5 separate regions of the Homo sapiens genome follow, and regions 2, 3, 4 and 5 are each linked to region 1. Evidence: promoter capture Hi-C in human tissues and cell types (Jung and others, 2019). All regions are on one chromosome and are shown on one strand. Each heading gives the region's core, a stretch centred on a gene start or on the middle of the fragment in contact. The rest is flanking DNA. Distances are from core to core; before and after follow the strand shown. Region 1 holds the start of CACTIN (cactin, spliceosome C complex subunit). Region 2 has its middle 10 kb from the start of PIAS4. Region 3 holds the start of ZBTB7A (zinc finger and BTB domain containing 7A). Region 4 holds the start of MAP2K2 (mitogen-activated protein kinase kinase 2). Region 5 holds the start of NFIC (nuclear factor I C).

Region 1 (2,700 bases), core at 141-2,640:
GCCATGTTGGACAGGCTGGTCTCGAACTCCTGACCTCAAGATCCACCTGCCACGGCCTCCCAAAGTGTTGGGATTACAGGCATGAGCCACTGCACCCCACTCAAGATAAACATTTTAATTTTCTTTTTTTTTTTGAGACGGAGTCTTGCTCTATCGCCGAGGCCATAGCGCAGTGGCACGATCTCGGCTCACTGCGACCTCCGCCTCCCAGGTTCAAGCAATTCTCCCTGCCTCAACCTCCCAAGTAGCTGGGATCACAGGTGCATGCCACCACACCCGGCTAATTTTTGTATTATTTAGTAGAGATAGGGTTTCACCATATTGGCCAGGCTGGTCTTGAACTCCCGACCTCAGGTGATCCGCCCGCCTCGGCCTCTCAAAGTGCTGGGGTTACAGGCGTGAGCCACCGTGCCCGGCCAAGATAAATATTTTAAAAGTTAGCTTAAATTACTATCATCCTCCATAAACAGGCCTTCCCAGCCCCGAGTGGTTAGAACTGCACGGGGTGGTGGTAGCAGCCACCATGGGCTAGGGGAGCTCAGGATGGGACATCAGCGTCTTCTAGGTCTCTGGCCTCCAGCCTTGCCCCTGAAGTCCGTCCTCCCACGCCAAACTTGTTTCAACAGCAAGTCCCCCAAACCCTGCTCACAACCCTCCCACGGGTCCCCAGCACCCACACCACAAAGCTGGGCAGCCTGGGTTGAGAAGGCAAGTGTTAAGAGTGACTTTCCCTCTCTGAGCCTCAGTTTCCCCGTCTCTAAAATGGGTTGATGGGGGAATACAGGGAGTTATCAAAGTTTTTGTTTTTTTTTAAAGCTTAACTCCCAAAATACATAGGTGTTCATTGGCAGGTGGTGGAGCATAACGATGACTCTCATAAGAAGGCTTTTCAGTTTCTGTCCCCGCGCCCGCCCTCTGCCCTCTGGAGCTGCCTGGCACCTAACACCTTCCCGGTTCCTCGCCTTTCGGGGACCTCGCTCCCCGGACACGCCTCTCCTCGGCCACGCCCCTGGCCACGCCAATGAAGCGCTACTTCCGACCTAGACCCGCTTCTTATTGGTCTCGCCTCGGCAGGCCCCTCCCTGCACAAGGTTCCTAGTTTGCCCTTGCCCCGCCCACAGTTTCTCAGGCCCCCTGAGGCGTGGGGACCCGCCTAGGGCTGCCTCCAGCACTGCCTGAAAGGAGACTCCGCCACCCTGGAGGCAACAATCCCACTGGAGTCAATCACGCGGTCCACATTTGCAGACGTAGTGGAAAGTCTGGGGTGTCGGAGTCCTTGCGGGCTGGGGCGACGGGATGGGTTGCTCTTTCCCGGCTCAGGCGCAAACGGGGCAGCCTGGAGAGCGCCGTGGGCGAGGAAGGCCCCCAGCGCAGGCTTCGGCTATTGGTGTTGGTGCCGCGGCCACTGGCCCAGCCGATGGGTCGGGACACACGCTCGCGCTCGCGGTCCGCGGGTCGCCGGGGCCGAAGGCGGCAGAGTCAGAGCGGGAGCCGAAGTCGGAGCAGGAGCCATGGGCGGCGAAACCGACGGCGCCGGGAGGACGAGGGACGGCGCAGACGGAGGCGGCGGAGCCGGGAGCGCAGGTGGGGTCGCTGCGGGAGCAGCGCTGGGGATCCGGCTCCTACCTCAGGAGCGCCCGACCGAGGGTTGGAGATCCCGGGGAACCGGGAAACCCCCGACTTACTCGGGGAGGGCTTCCTAGAGAAGGGGACAATTGACCACCGGTTGGAATTAACCTGGCAGCGGAAGGAAGGCGAGAGGCGTTCCAGGCAGGGGACCGGGCGGTTGGAGGGACAGCCCGGAGCCGGGTGAGCGAGGCGGCGGGGAGGTAACGAGAGATCAGATCATATCATATCGAGCCCTGTGTGCTCAGCACATTAGATCTTGGCTATTAGTCGGAGGGAAATGGAGAGTCTTGAGAGGAGTTTGGGTAGGGGAGTGACGTGGACTGACTTAACTCTGCATACTTTCTGGCTTTGAGGTGGAGAAGGGATGGAGCGGGGTAGGCAGGAGCGGCATCAGAGTAGGACGGCACAATTGTCCAGACAGTAGATGATGGCAGTCTCGATGGGAGGGAGGCTGTAGTCAACCACAGCGGGCAAAGTGCGTAGATTTCAGAGGGATTCTGGAAGTAGAGGAGACAACATTTGCTAATGGAGGTGGGCTGTGGGAGGGAAAAAGACTCGGTGTCAGCTGGCAGGACTCACAGCTGATTCCTAGTGCCTGAATCTCAGCTTCCCCATGGTCCTTTTCTTCTGGAGATGGGGCACTTGGTCGGATTTGCCTTGAGCCGGCTCCAGTACAGAGAAACCAAAATGGGGACAGGGACTGATTCCCAGACCGGGGCCCCAGTGCTGGCTCAGCCCCTTCGTGGCTGACACTCAGGCCAGTCTTGCCCCGCTCTGGGCCAAGTTCACTCATCGGTTGTTGGTTTTTTTGTTTGTTTGTTTTTGAGACGGAGTCTTGCTCTGTCGCCCAGGCTGGGGTGCAGTGGCACGATCTCGGCTGTTACCTCTGCCTCCTGGGTTCAAGCGATTCTTCAGCCTCAGCCTCCCCGGTAGCTGGGGTTACAGGTGCTTGTTGCCACACCCAGCTAATTTTTGAATTTTTTCGTAGAGCTGGGATTTCTCCATATTGGCCAGGCAGGTCTTGAACTCCTGGCCTCAAGTGATCTGCCCGCCTCGGCCTCCCAAAGTGCT
Region 2 (2,700 bases), core at 9-2,508, 370 kb before region 1:
TGTCCACTTCTTTCCACACAGACAGCGTAACAATCTGACCTCTCTTTCTTTTCCCCACATTTCCCCCTTTTTCTATTCGACAAAACCGCCATCGTCATCATGGTCTGCTCTCAATGAGCTGCTGGGTACACCTCCCAGACGGGGTGGCGGCCGGGCAGAGGGGCTCCTCACTTCCCAGACGGGGCGGCCGGGCAGAGACGCCCCCCACCTCTCGGACGGGGCGGCTGGCCGGGCGGGGGCTGCCCCCCACCTCCCTTCCGGACGGGGCAGCTGGCCGGGCGGGGGCTGCCCCCGGCCAGGCTGGTCTTGAACTCCTGACCTCGAGTGATCTGCCCTCCTGGACCTCCCAAAATGCTGGGATTACGGGTGTGAACCACTGAGCCAGGCCTGTATGCTAGTAGAACTTCATAAACACAGAAATTTCAATCTTACGTATTTTCACATGTCATGTTATTATTATGCTTTTGTTTGAACATTTAAAAGAGAAAGAAGGCCGGGTGCTGTGGGTCGGGTGTGTAATCCCAGAACTTTTGGAGATCCAGGCAGGAGGACTGCTTGAACACAGGATTTCTACACCAGACTGAGCAACATAATGAGATCCTCTCTCTGCAAAAAATAAAAAATTAAGTAGGCATGGTGGTGCACGCCTACAGTCTTACCTACTCAGGTGGATGGCTTGAGCCCAGGAGTTCCAGGCAGCAGTGAACCGTGATTGTGTCACTGCACTCCAGCCTGGGTGACAGAGAGAGACTCTGTCTCAAAAGTAATAATAATAATAATAATAATAATAATACGCTGGGCGCAGTGGCTCATGCCTGTAATCCCAGCACTTTGGGAGGCCGAGGCGGGCAGATCACGAGATCAGGAGATCGAGACCATCCTGGCTAACACGGTGAAACCCCGTCTCTACTAAAAATACAAAAAATTAGCCGGGCATGGTGGCGGGCGCCTGTAGTCCCAGCTACTCGGGAGGCTGAGGCAGGAAAACGGCGTGAACCCGGGAGGCGGAGCTTGCAGTGAGCCGAGATTGTGCCACTGAACTCCAGCCTGGTTACAGAGCGAGACTCAAAAAAAAAAAAAAAAAAAGATTAGGGCTGAGGGCTGTAGCTTGCTAGTCTTTGTTAGAGATGCTCAGACACAGTGGTGACCACAACAGGCAAAATTCCCTGTCCTCGTGGAACTGGCATTCCAGGAGGGAGATCAACAACAAACAAAATCAAAAGCTAATTAAAGGTCCCGGCGTGGTGGGTCACGCCTGTAATCCCAGCACTTTGGGAGGCTGACATGGGCGGATCACCTGAGGCCCAGAGTTCGAGACCAGCCTGGCCAAGATGGTGAAAACCCATCTCTACCAAAAATAAAAATTTAGCTGGGCGTGGTGGCACACGCCTGTAGTCCCAGCTACTTGGGAGGCTGAGGCAGGAGAGTCACTTGAACCCGGAAGGTGGAGCTTGCAGTGAGCCGAGATGGCACCACTGTACTCCAGCCTGGGCAACAGAGGGAGACTCCATCTCAAAAAAAAAAAAAAAGGCTAAATACAGAACATGTTCAGACACTGATGGGAGGTAGACAGACAAGAAAGAGGAGAGGGAGGCTATGGAAAATCCCCACACGACCAATTTAAAGCTTTACAGCCTGTTTTAGGACAGAATTCATCAGTTCTAAATCAGATCCTTTGCAATTCTGACAAAATTCACAAACCACCTCCACTGTTATGTAAGATACATAGAGATAGATGGAGAGAGGTAGATATAGATACAGATAGTTACTCCCGTTTTGCACTTAAGTAAATGGAGTTGTTTCCTGGGCAAAAATACCTATGAGCTGGGCGCGGTAGCTCAAGCTTGTAATCCCAGCACTTTAGGAGGCCGAGGCGGGTGGATCATGAGGTCAGGAGTTTGAGACCAGCCTGGCCAACATGGTGAAACCCTGTCTCTACTAGAAATACAAAAAAAATTACTGGGGCGTGGTGGCACGCACCTGTAATCCCAGCTACTCAGGATGCTGAGGCAGGAGAATCTCTTGAACCTGGGAGACAGAGGTTGCAGTGAGCCGAGATGAGGACACTGCACTCCAGCCTCGGTGACAGAAGGAGACTCCATCTTTACCAAAAAAAAAAAGTATCAAATTGTGAATTTGGTGTTAGCTGAATATTAAAAGCATCTTAAATTTAAATAAAGTTGTGTGCACGTTTGTATATATGTATTTCAAAACATAGCAATGTATTATCACAATTGATTGCATTTTCTGGCTCTAAAACAGATTGTAGGCCAGGCACAGTGGCTCACTCCTGTAATCCCAGCATTTTGGGAGGCCGAGGCAGGAGGATCACCTGAGGTCAGAAGTTTGAGACCAGCCCACGCAACATGGTGAAACCCCTGTCTCCACTAAAAATACAAAAATTAGCCGGGCATAGTGGCACACACCTGTAATTCCAGCTACTCAGGAGGCTGAGACAGGAGAATCGCTTTAACCCGAGAGGCAGAGGTTGCAGTGAGCTGAGATCATGCTGCTGCACTCCAGCCTGGGCAACACGCGAGACTCCATCTCAAAAAAATAAAATAAATAAGTAAATAAATAAATAAAACAGATTGTATAAACAAATATAATCTAATTGGGGGACAGGTTGGGCGCCGGGGCTTAGGCCTAGAATCCCAGCACTTTGGGAGGCTGAGGCAGGAGGATTGCTTGAGCTCAGGA
Region 3 (2,700 bases), core at 9-2,508, 440 kb before region 1:
AATAATGACCCTGGGATTAGGTGTTAGAATGAAGGCACAGTGAGCCCCGGAACAGGGTCACCCACTGGATAAGCGCTCACTAAACGGCAGCTAAAGCAGCTGTCAGTACTCTCTCTGTCTGGAGGAATGAGGAAGGGGAAACTGAGTCCTGGAGCCCTCCCCCCCCCCCCCAGGCGCGCGGTCGCACCAGCCAGCCCTCCCCGGGCCGGGCCAGGACGTTCTCACCACTCGTGCCCTGCTCCCCCTTCCCTGTCCCCCGCCGGACCTCTCCCACGACCGGGGAGGAAGTGGGAGAAACGGACAGGGGAAAAAAAAAAGTCGCGCTGAACCAACGCCTCCCCACTCCCCACCTCCGCCCCTCGCGAGCCATGCAGACCCCCTTGTGCCAAGGAGCGGCCCGCGCGGACCAGGCGTCCAGGGCCCGGTCCCCGTCCCGCCCCGCGGCCCGCAGCCGGGTGGGGGAACTCGCGAAGCCGGGAAAACAACCGCCCTCCCCGCCCCTCGCCAACCCCTTCCCCCGCTGACGCCCCTAGCGCAGCGGGGTGGAGGCGACTCCTTTATATAATCGCGGGAGGGCAGGTTGGTGGTTTCATTTAGGGACCCGGGAGCCCCGCGGACCCGGGCTGTCCTTGGCAAGGCCACCCCCCGGGGTCCCTGGCGCGGCAAGTCCCACTGAGGCCCGGGGAGGCCCAGGGCCTGGCCTTGCGGGGGGATCCCCACCGCCTCACCCCCAACCCACCCCCGGCAGCCCAGGCCGCGCGACCCACACGCCCGCGTCGCTCCTCGCTGTGCGCACCGCGCTCCCCGCCCCCGCTGCCATCCTGCCACGCCCCGGGCGTCGGGGGCACAGCCCGCGCCCCCCCGCACCCCGCCCCTGCGCAGAGGCTGGGGGCCTGTTTATCTGGAGGCCCCCACCCCCCCTCCACCCCGGGGGGCCCGCTCCCCCCGCGCCCCGGGGAGCTCTGGGGCCAGATAAGCTGGCAAGCTGGCACGGCGCCGCGCGGCGGGGCGGAGAGGTCAGAGGCGGGGGGGCGCGCCGGGGCGGGCCGGACCCCCCCCCCCGACTTGACAAAACCTAATAACAGCCCGGTCTCCCCGGCGCAGCGGGCGAAGCCCCACGGGAGGGCAGAGACGTGGCAAGAGGGGACCTGCCGAGCCTGTTCTGGCCTCCGAGGCCAGGCTGGGGGGGGCGGGCTGGGCGTGGGGGGGCCGGCGGCTGCGGCACCTTTAAGACAAGGGAGGACCCCTCTTGCCCTCGGAGAAACCAGGAAGGGAGTCGCGAGCATCATACGGGGCTTTGGCTGTACTGTACAGTTACTGTAGGGGCAGTGACGCCGCCGCCGCCGCGCGAGGGAGCGACCAGGGCAGCGCGACGCGGGCAGAGCGAGCGCCGCGGACCCCGGAGGCGAGCGGCCGAGGGAGCCCAGTCCCAACTTCGGGCCCCGGCCCCGCGCGCCCCGGCCCGGCCCCGCGAGGTAAGTCAGCGCCCGGCGCGGCCCCCGGCACGGGGTGCAGGGCGGGGACGGGCGGGGGTCGCTGCGGCCACCGCTGCCCCCTCGGGAAGGGGAGATCCGGGGAGCCGGGGACGTTCCCCCAAGTTTCAGAGGAAGGGGTGGTTGGCAGCTGCCCGGAGGCTGGAGGCGCCCTGGATCCCGAGCGCGGGGAGGGGGCGCCGCCCGGGAAGGGGGGATTGGGGGCTAAGTGCATGAGCTTGTGCGCCAGCCCCCCCCAACCCGGGTGCATGGCTTTTCGGGGCTCCCAGGCGCGCGGGGAGCGGGGGAGGGGAAGCAGGGCTGCATTGAGGGTGGGGGGAGCCGGCGTGGGGAGATAGGGGGGCGCGTCGCCTGCTAAGTTTCCAGCTGAAGACGAGGGGCGCTCTCGCCCCCCGGGGGCCTATTCGGTGCTGCGTGCATACGTTGGAGTTGGCCAGGATTGAGCTCCATGGGGGATGGGGGGGAGGGGGCTGAAAAAACAGGGAGGGGGGCTTCGGAAAGGAGGGGGAAGGGGTGGGGTGTCCGGGTGGGCGGGCAGGGCCGCAGGGACCTCTGGGCTTCGTAGTCCCTCCGCCGTTTGCAGCCGGCAGGTGGCAAGCGGCTTGGACTACAAGTCCCAGGGTGCCCCGCGCCGACAGCCCGCCGCGGCCTGCGGGTAGGGGCGGTGCGGAGGAGGGGCGGTGAGCGGCGGGCCGGAGAGCCAATGGGCGCGGGCCGATCGCGCGGCGCGGCGCGGGGGCGGGGCCAGCCCGCCAGGGGGCGGGGCCTGGAGCCGGGCTCCCCTCGCCGGGGGCCGGTGGCGGTCCCGGCTTCCGGCTGCGCGGCCCGCGGGCCGGCCCCCTCCCCGCCCCGGGGCCCCTCCCCGCCTGGTTGTGTAACCGTCCCCAGCCCCCCTCCCCTCGGCCCCCCGCCCGTGGGGGGGGGGTCACCCTCCCCGCGCTCCCCGGGGAGGGCGGCGGCCCGGGCGGCCGCGCGGTGCAGGCGAGCCCGGGGATGCGCGGCCTAGCGCAGGCCGGGCCCGGGCGTGGGGGAGGCGGGCGGGCGGACCCAGATCCGGGGTAATTTGCATCGCCCTCCCCCCAGCCCGGGTGGGGATTGGCCGCCGGCGGCGGGGGGTGGCGCGGGGCCAGGCTCACTGCCGCCTCCCGGCCCCTCGGAGGGAGCCAGCCCAGCCGCAGCCGCCGCCACCGCCGCCGCCGGGGCCGGG
Region 4 (2,700 bases), core at 167-2,666, 500 kb before region 1:
GGCAAGGACTCAAACAGATATTTGTACATCTGTGTTCATAGCGGCACGATTCACCGAAGTGTCTAGTGGCAGATAAATGGATAAGCAAAATATAGTCCATGCACACAATAGAATATTATTCAGCCTTAAAAAGGAGGAAAATCCTGACTGGGTGCGGTGGCTCACGCCTGTAATCCCAGCACTTTGGGAGATCGAGGCGGGTGGATCACGAGGTCAGGAGATGGAGACCATCCTGGCTAACACGGTGAAACCCCGTCTCTACTAAAAATACAAAAAAATTAGCCGGGCATGGTGGTGGGCACCTGTAGTCCCAGCTACTCGGGAGGCTGAGGCAGGAGAATGGCGTGAACCCGGGAGGCAGAGTTTGCAGTGGGCCGAGATCGCACCACTGCACTCCAGCCTGGGTGACAGAGCGAGACTCCGTCTCAAAAAAAAAAAAAGGGAAATTTTTCTTTTTTTTTTTTTTTCTGCTCTTTTTTGGAGCAGGGCTACCCGATTGGAAGTATGCCCGGAGTAGTCAAGTGGGTAAATTCTAACACAGGTTACAACGTGGATCTAACACAGCTACAACAGGCACCTTGAGGACGTGGCCCTCAGTGAAATATGCCAGCCACAAAGGGACAAAACCTGTGTGATCCTACTCATATGAAGTCCCTAGAATCATCAGATTCACAGGAAGTACGACGTTGGGTTCCAGGGGCTGGGGAGGGGGATAGGGAGTGAGGTTTCATAGGGGACAGTGTTTCAGTTTCGGAAGATGAGAAAATTCTGGAGATGGTGGTGGTGGTGGTTGCTTAATGCCGCTGAGCTGTGCATTTAGAAATGGTTAAAATGACAAGTTTTATGTTATGTGTATTTTATAATAAAAATGTTTCAACATGCGCATAGTAATATATGCAATTTTATTTGTCAATTAAAATAAATTTTAAAAATGTTTTAGAGTGGCCTTGTTCTGATGAAGGAGGGGGAGTAACTGACACTCTAAGGCGGTGGGGGCTAGGGGCGTGTGTCCACGCTTGCCAAAAAGATTAAATGGACTCTGGGTGGGTCTCGTCCACTGTTCTGGGGTCTTACGGGTTCTCTCAGCCCCAGCCTGGGGCACCACAGGCTCTCAGGAGTCTGGCTACCCTGCCCACCTGTGCACGACCATCACCCCAGCCTTCATCCCTCCGTCTCCTCCCCTGCTCCCGCGCCTCATGCCCCAAGCGCTTGGGCACACGCGCCGTGGTAAGGCAAGCGAGGGCGCCCGGTCCCGGCACCGCCTCGCGTCGGTCTCCGCCCCTTTCCCCTCCGAAAGGCGGCCTTGTGCTGCTGCGCAGGCGCGGCGGCTGGGGGTGGGGTCCATCGCGGCTCCCGATCCCGTTATCGCGAGAAGCCGGTCCGCGATCTTGTGGCCGCCCCTCCCCTCCCCCTGCCTCTCGGACTCGGGCTGCGGCGTCAGCCTTCTTCGGGCCTCGGCAGCGGTAGCGGCTCGCTCGCCTCAGCCCCAGCGCCCCTCGGCTACCCTCGGCCCAGGCCCGCAGCGCCGCCCGCCCTCGGCCGCCCCGACGCCGGCCTGGGCCGCGGCCGCAGCCCCGGGCTCGCGTAGGCGCCGACCGCTCCCGGCCCGCCCCCTATGGGCCCCGGCTAGAGGCGCCGCCGCCGCCGGCCCGCGGAGCCCCGATGCTGGCCCGGAGGAAGCCGGTGCTGCCGGCGCTCACCATCAACCCTACCATCGCCGAGGGCCCATCCCCTACCAGCGAGGGCGCCTCCGAGTGAGTGGGCAGGGGTCAGCCGGAGGCTTGGGGTGCACGGGGCAGGGAGCCCTCGGGGAAGGACGGGGCGAGGGGACGGGGGTTCGCGAGGAGTGCACGAGGCAGGGGGGTCACGGGGGAGGACGGGGTGAGTGGTGCACGGGGCAGGGGGTTCTCGAGGGGAGGACAGGGCAGGGGACCCTCGGGGGAGGACGGGGCAGGGGGCCCTCGGGGGAGGACGGGGCAGGGGGCCCTCGGAGGACGGGGCGAAGGGTGCACGGGGCAGGGGGGTCTTTGAGCAGTGAGATTGGGCGAGGGGAGGTCCTTGTGGTGGAAAAGATGGGGTGTGGGGTTCCTGAAGAGTGGAATTGGGATAACGGGAGTCTCTGAGTAGTGAAGTTGGGGTGAAGGATGTCTCTAAGAGGAGAGGATGGGGACAGGGGTCCCTGAGCAGCGAGGTTGAGTGAGGGGAGGTCCCTGCAGTGCAGAAGATGGGGTGTGGGGCTTCTGAAAAGTGAAGCTGGGGTGAGGGGAGTCCCTCAGTAGGAAAATCGGAATGAGGGGTGTCCCCAAGGAGAGAACAGGATGAGGCTCCCCAAGCAGTGAGATCGGGGTGAGGGGTATCTCTAAGAGGAGAGAACACAGTGTGGGGTCCTTGAGTAGTGAAATGAGGGTGAAGAGTTCCTAAGAGGAAAGGACGGAGTAAAGGTTGCCGTAGTCATGAGATGAGGGTGAGGGGAGACCCTGAGTAGGGAAATCGGGGTGCAGGGCATTCCTGAGAGGAGAGGATGGGGTGTGGGGAGGTCAGGCAGCCCCTGAGGAGGAAATCTGGGCAAGGGGGCTCCAGAGGGGAGAGGATGGGGTGAGGGGTCCCTGAGTAATGAGACTGAGATGGGGTAGGGTCCCTGGTAGGAAAAGACGGGGTAAGGGTCCCTCAATAATGAGATAGGGCCAAGGGAGGTCCCTG
Region 5 (2,700 bases), core at 54-2,553, 260 kb after region 1:
TGCACCATGCCCTGGAGCGGAAGCCGGGGACTCATATACTCCCCACACAGTGCTTCTTAAGACGGGCCTGGCCCTCGCTGGAATCGCACCCCCCACGTGCCGGGACTTTACAGTTTGCCCGCCATACTGTCCCCTCTCCAGAACCGGCCTTAGCCGCACCTCACTTCAGGGGAAACTGAGGCCAGAACCTCTCCAGCCTAAAGACACACTGCGTAAGGAGGAAAGCAGCGGTCTAGAAAACGGAACTTGCAGACCTCGGGGTCCCCGGGAGCCTGGGCTGGAAGGAGTCCCCGGGGGGAGCCGCCCCCTCCCCACACACCCCCTCGGCCATTGCACAAGGCTCGGCCCCGGGGCAGTCTGGGAGTGCGGCCAGGGGTGAGAGGCTACGGGAGGGGGAGGGGGAGGGGGAGGGGACGGGGCAGGTGCCGGGCTGGCGAGGGCGTCCGCAGCGCCGCAGTGCCCGGGCCAGACCCGGAGCGCCGGGCCTCCCGCTCCTCCCGGCGGCGGCTCCAGAATCCAGAATCCAGAATCCAGAATCGATGCAGCGAAAATACCGGGACGGTGCTGGGGGGCTTGCAAAGGAGGGGGGACCCAGCCGGGCCGCCGGAGCACCCTTCCCCCTCCTGGGCCTCCAACTTCTCCTGCCCCCTCCCCCTCCATGCACACGTGGGCCAATAACGAGGGAAAGGCGACCGAGGGCCAGGGCGGCCCGCACAACCTTGGTGGGGGGACACGGGGAAAACACATGAGAGGTCCCTTTCTCTCCAGCTGGGGAGACCCAGGGTCCAATCACGACCCCCTAGATTCCTCTCAGAGGCAGGCGGGGGGCTTCCCGCAGAGCCCTTGCTGGAGGGGGGCCAGCCCCCACCCCGACCTTTCCGAGTGTCGGGGCGGGGGTGCGGAGTGCGTCGGTGTGTGGGGGGGGGACGCAAATCTGCAGACCAAGCCCCACATCCGGGAGAGGTCCCGAGAGTCGGGGTTGGGGGTGCTGGGCGGGAGTCCCGCGTAGGGGGTCCGCGGTAGGTAAGGGTGTGGGGGGGGTACCCCAGCCTGACCCATCCCCCCACCGGACCCCAGCCCTCGGCGCGGGGGGCATCCCGGGCAGGGATGGCGGGAGGGACGCGCGCCTTTTTCGTCCCGCCTCCTCCTGCTTCAAAACTCCGGGGCTGGGATGCGGGGGGCGCGGGGGCGCCGGCGGGGGGCCGGGCGAGGACCGTACCTGGGTGAGGCAGAGCGGGGACGAATACATCCCGGGCGCGGCGGGAGGCGCAGGGCCGGCCGGAGCGGGCGCGCTGAACTTACTGAGTCATTTTTCCAAACCACCCCCCCGCCCCCCCCAACCCCCCCCCCCGCCCCGCGGCCGGCGCGCTCTCCTCGCCGCCTCCTCCCTCGGTCTCCCTCCTCCTCCCTCCTGCTCTCCCTCTCTCGCGCCGCCCGCCTCGCTCTCTGTCCCTCTCTCCCTCCGTCTCTCTCTTCCTCTCTCCCCCGTCTCTGTCTCTCTGTCTCTCTCTCTACCCTCTGACACCCTCCCCCTCCCACCCCGAACCTCCCACTTCTCAACACCCAACTTTCAAAGAAACGAGGGAAAAAAGGGCGCGAGCGAGAAAGGAGAGCCTCCCCCGACGTCTCAGGACCCCCCCGCTCCTCCCGTATTTACGCAATGCCCCAGGGCACTAGACCAGGACCCCAGGACTGCAGGGCGACCCCAATTCGGATCAAGCGGAGAGGGGGGACAGGGTTGTTTCTGGACATTGAGGGGCCAGGGGTGGATTTTTAAGGCCCCCCCTCCCCACCCCCCCATCACCCCCGAGCTGGCCGGGAAGTTGGAGGAAAGAGCCAGGGGGGAGGGAAGGAATGAAGAAGTGACGTGCGCAGAGGCCGGCCAGCGCGCCTCTTTCCCCTTAAAGATGTACGACCCTGGGTGCACGGTGAGCTGGTCCCACAGCACCCTGGCTCCCTTCTCCCCCCAGAGCCAGGCAGGGGCTGCGGGTCCCCAGCTAGAGGGGCTTGTGTGCAGCTGTCCCTTCCTTGGCCAGAAGGGCCCAGGCTAACACGGGAGGCTCCAGAATTTGCTCTCTTCACCCAGCACCCAAGGGGCAGGGGAGGGGTGGCCTCGCCTGTGTGTCTCTCCAGCACCCCAGGAGGACGGTGTCCAGGCGGGATCTCCAGCTGGCCAGATAAACCCTTGCAGCCTCCCCCTGGGTATCCAATAATTTCCACCTGCCTCAGGGGTGTGCCCTTTTCACAGATCTCAAGACTGAGGTATGGCAAGTGTGGCTTGGAGCCAGGCCATCTGGACCTGGAGCCCACATTCTGTTCTCCTTCTAGACGTAACAGGGCAGAGACCTGGCCTGCCTCCGTCTGAGCCCCCAGGGCATCTGATGACAGGGCCCCAACCCTCCCCCGGTTCACTCCCTGGATCCTCCCAGGCTAGCTCAGAGGCTGCTGTGTCTCTCATTCCCATCCCAAGGGTTCTCCCCTATAAAGTGGCTTAAAGATGCCCATCCTGTGGGATTGCTGGGGATAAGGACAATGACCTTAGCAGAGCCTTGACCTTGGGTCAAATGTTCACTAAAGACACATTCTTAGAAAGCTTGGCCATTTCACCTCATCTCTCTGAGCTTCCCAAGGACAAATGATACCCTCTCACCAAGCTGGGGCAGGTGCCCCAGGCCCAGGGGCGCAGAAGATACCAGCACC

The links. Contacts are between HindIII fragments. The study calls those that stand out against the background at their distance.
Region 2: a fragment that was not itself captured here is called in contact with the fragment with the promoter of CACTIN in region 1 in 2 of the 25 tissues and cell types used here (heart right ventricle and stomach).
Region 3: the fragment with the promoter of ZBTB7A here is called in contact with the fragment with the promoter of CACTIN in region 1 in 1 of the 25 tissues and cell types used here (dorsolateral prefrontal cortex).
Region 4: a contact is called between the fragment with the promoter of MAP2K2 here and the fragment with the promoter of CACTIN in region 1, in 1 of the 25 tissues and cell types used here (lymphoblastoid cells).
Region 5: the fragment with the promoter of NFIC here is called in contact with the fragment with the promoter of CACTIN in region 1 in 3 of the 25 tissues and cell types used here (dorsolateral prefrontal cortex, liver and lymphoblastoid cells).

What each region holds. Positions count from the first base shown.
Region 1 is chr19:3,625,480-3,628,179 of GRCh38, reverse strand. It overlaps CACTIN (cactin, spliceosome C complex subunit), which reads left to right and starts at 1,390. Exons shown (of 10, transcript NM_001080543.2): 1 at 1,390-1,584. The coding sequence starts at 1,418. RefSeq lists enhancers at 1,057-1,426, 1,316-1,877, 1,878-2,439, 2,440-2,700. The HindIII fragment of the contact is 17,013 bases long and covers 1-2,700 here.
Region 2 is chr19:3,996,378-3,999,077 of GRCh38, reverse strand. No RefSeq gene overlaps it. Among named protein-coding and RNA genes, the nearest start is that of PIAS4, 10 kb to the left of the region's middle. RefSeq lists an enhancer at 1-239. The HindIII fragment of the contact is 5,265 bases long and covers 1-2,700 here.
Region 3 is chr19:4,065,457-4,068,156 of GRCh38, reverse strand. It overlaps ZBTB7A (zinc finger and BTB domain containing 7A), which reads left to right and starts at 1,258. Exons shown (of 3, transcript NM_015898.4): 1 at 1,258-1,475. RefSeq lists silencers at 408-737, 798-907, 1,118-1,177, 1,218-1,267, 1,278-1,477 and 1 more. The HindIII fragment of the contact is 23,363 bases long and covers 1-2,700 here.
Region 4 is chr19:4,122,838-4,125,537 of GRCh38, reverse strand. It overlaps MAP2K2 (mitogen-activated protein kinase kinase 2), which reads left to right and starts at 1,416. Exons shown (of 11, transcript NM_030662.4): 1 at 1,416-1,754. The coding sequence starts at 1,663. RefSeq lists silencers at 1,264-1,383, 1,574-1,823. The HindIII fragment of the contact is 9,633 bases long and covers 1-2,700 here.
Region 5 is chr19:3,365,186-3,367,885 of GRCh38, reverse strand. It overlaps NFIC (nuclear factor I C), which reads right to left and starts at 1,303. Exons shown (of 11, transcript NM_001245002.2): 1 at 1,220-1,303. The coding sequence starts at 1,249. RefSeq lists silencers at 295-694, 985-1,134, 1,585-1,674. The HindIII fragment of the contact is 27,364 bases long and covers 1-2,700 here.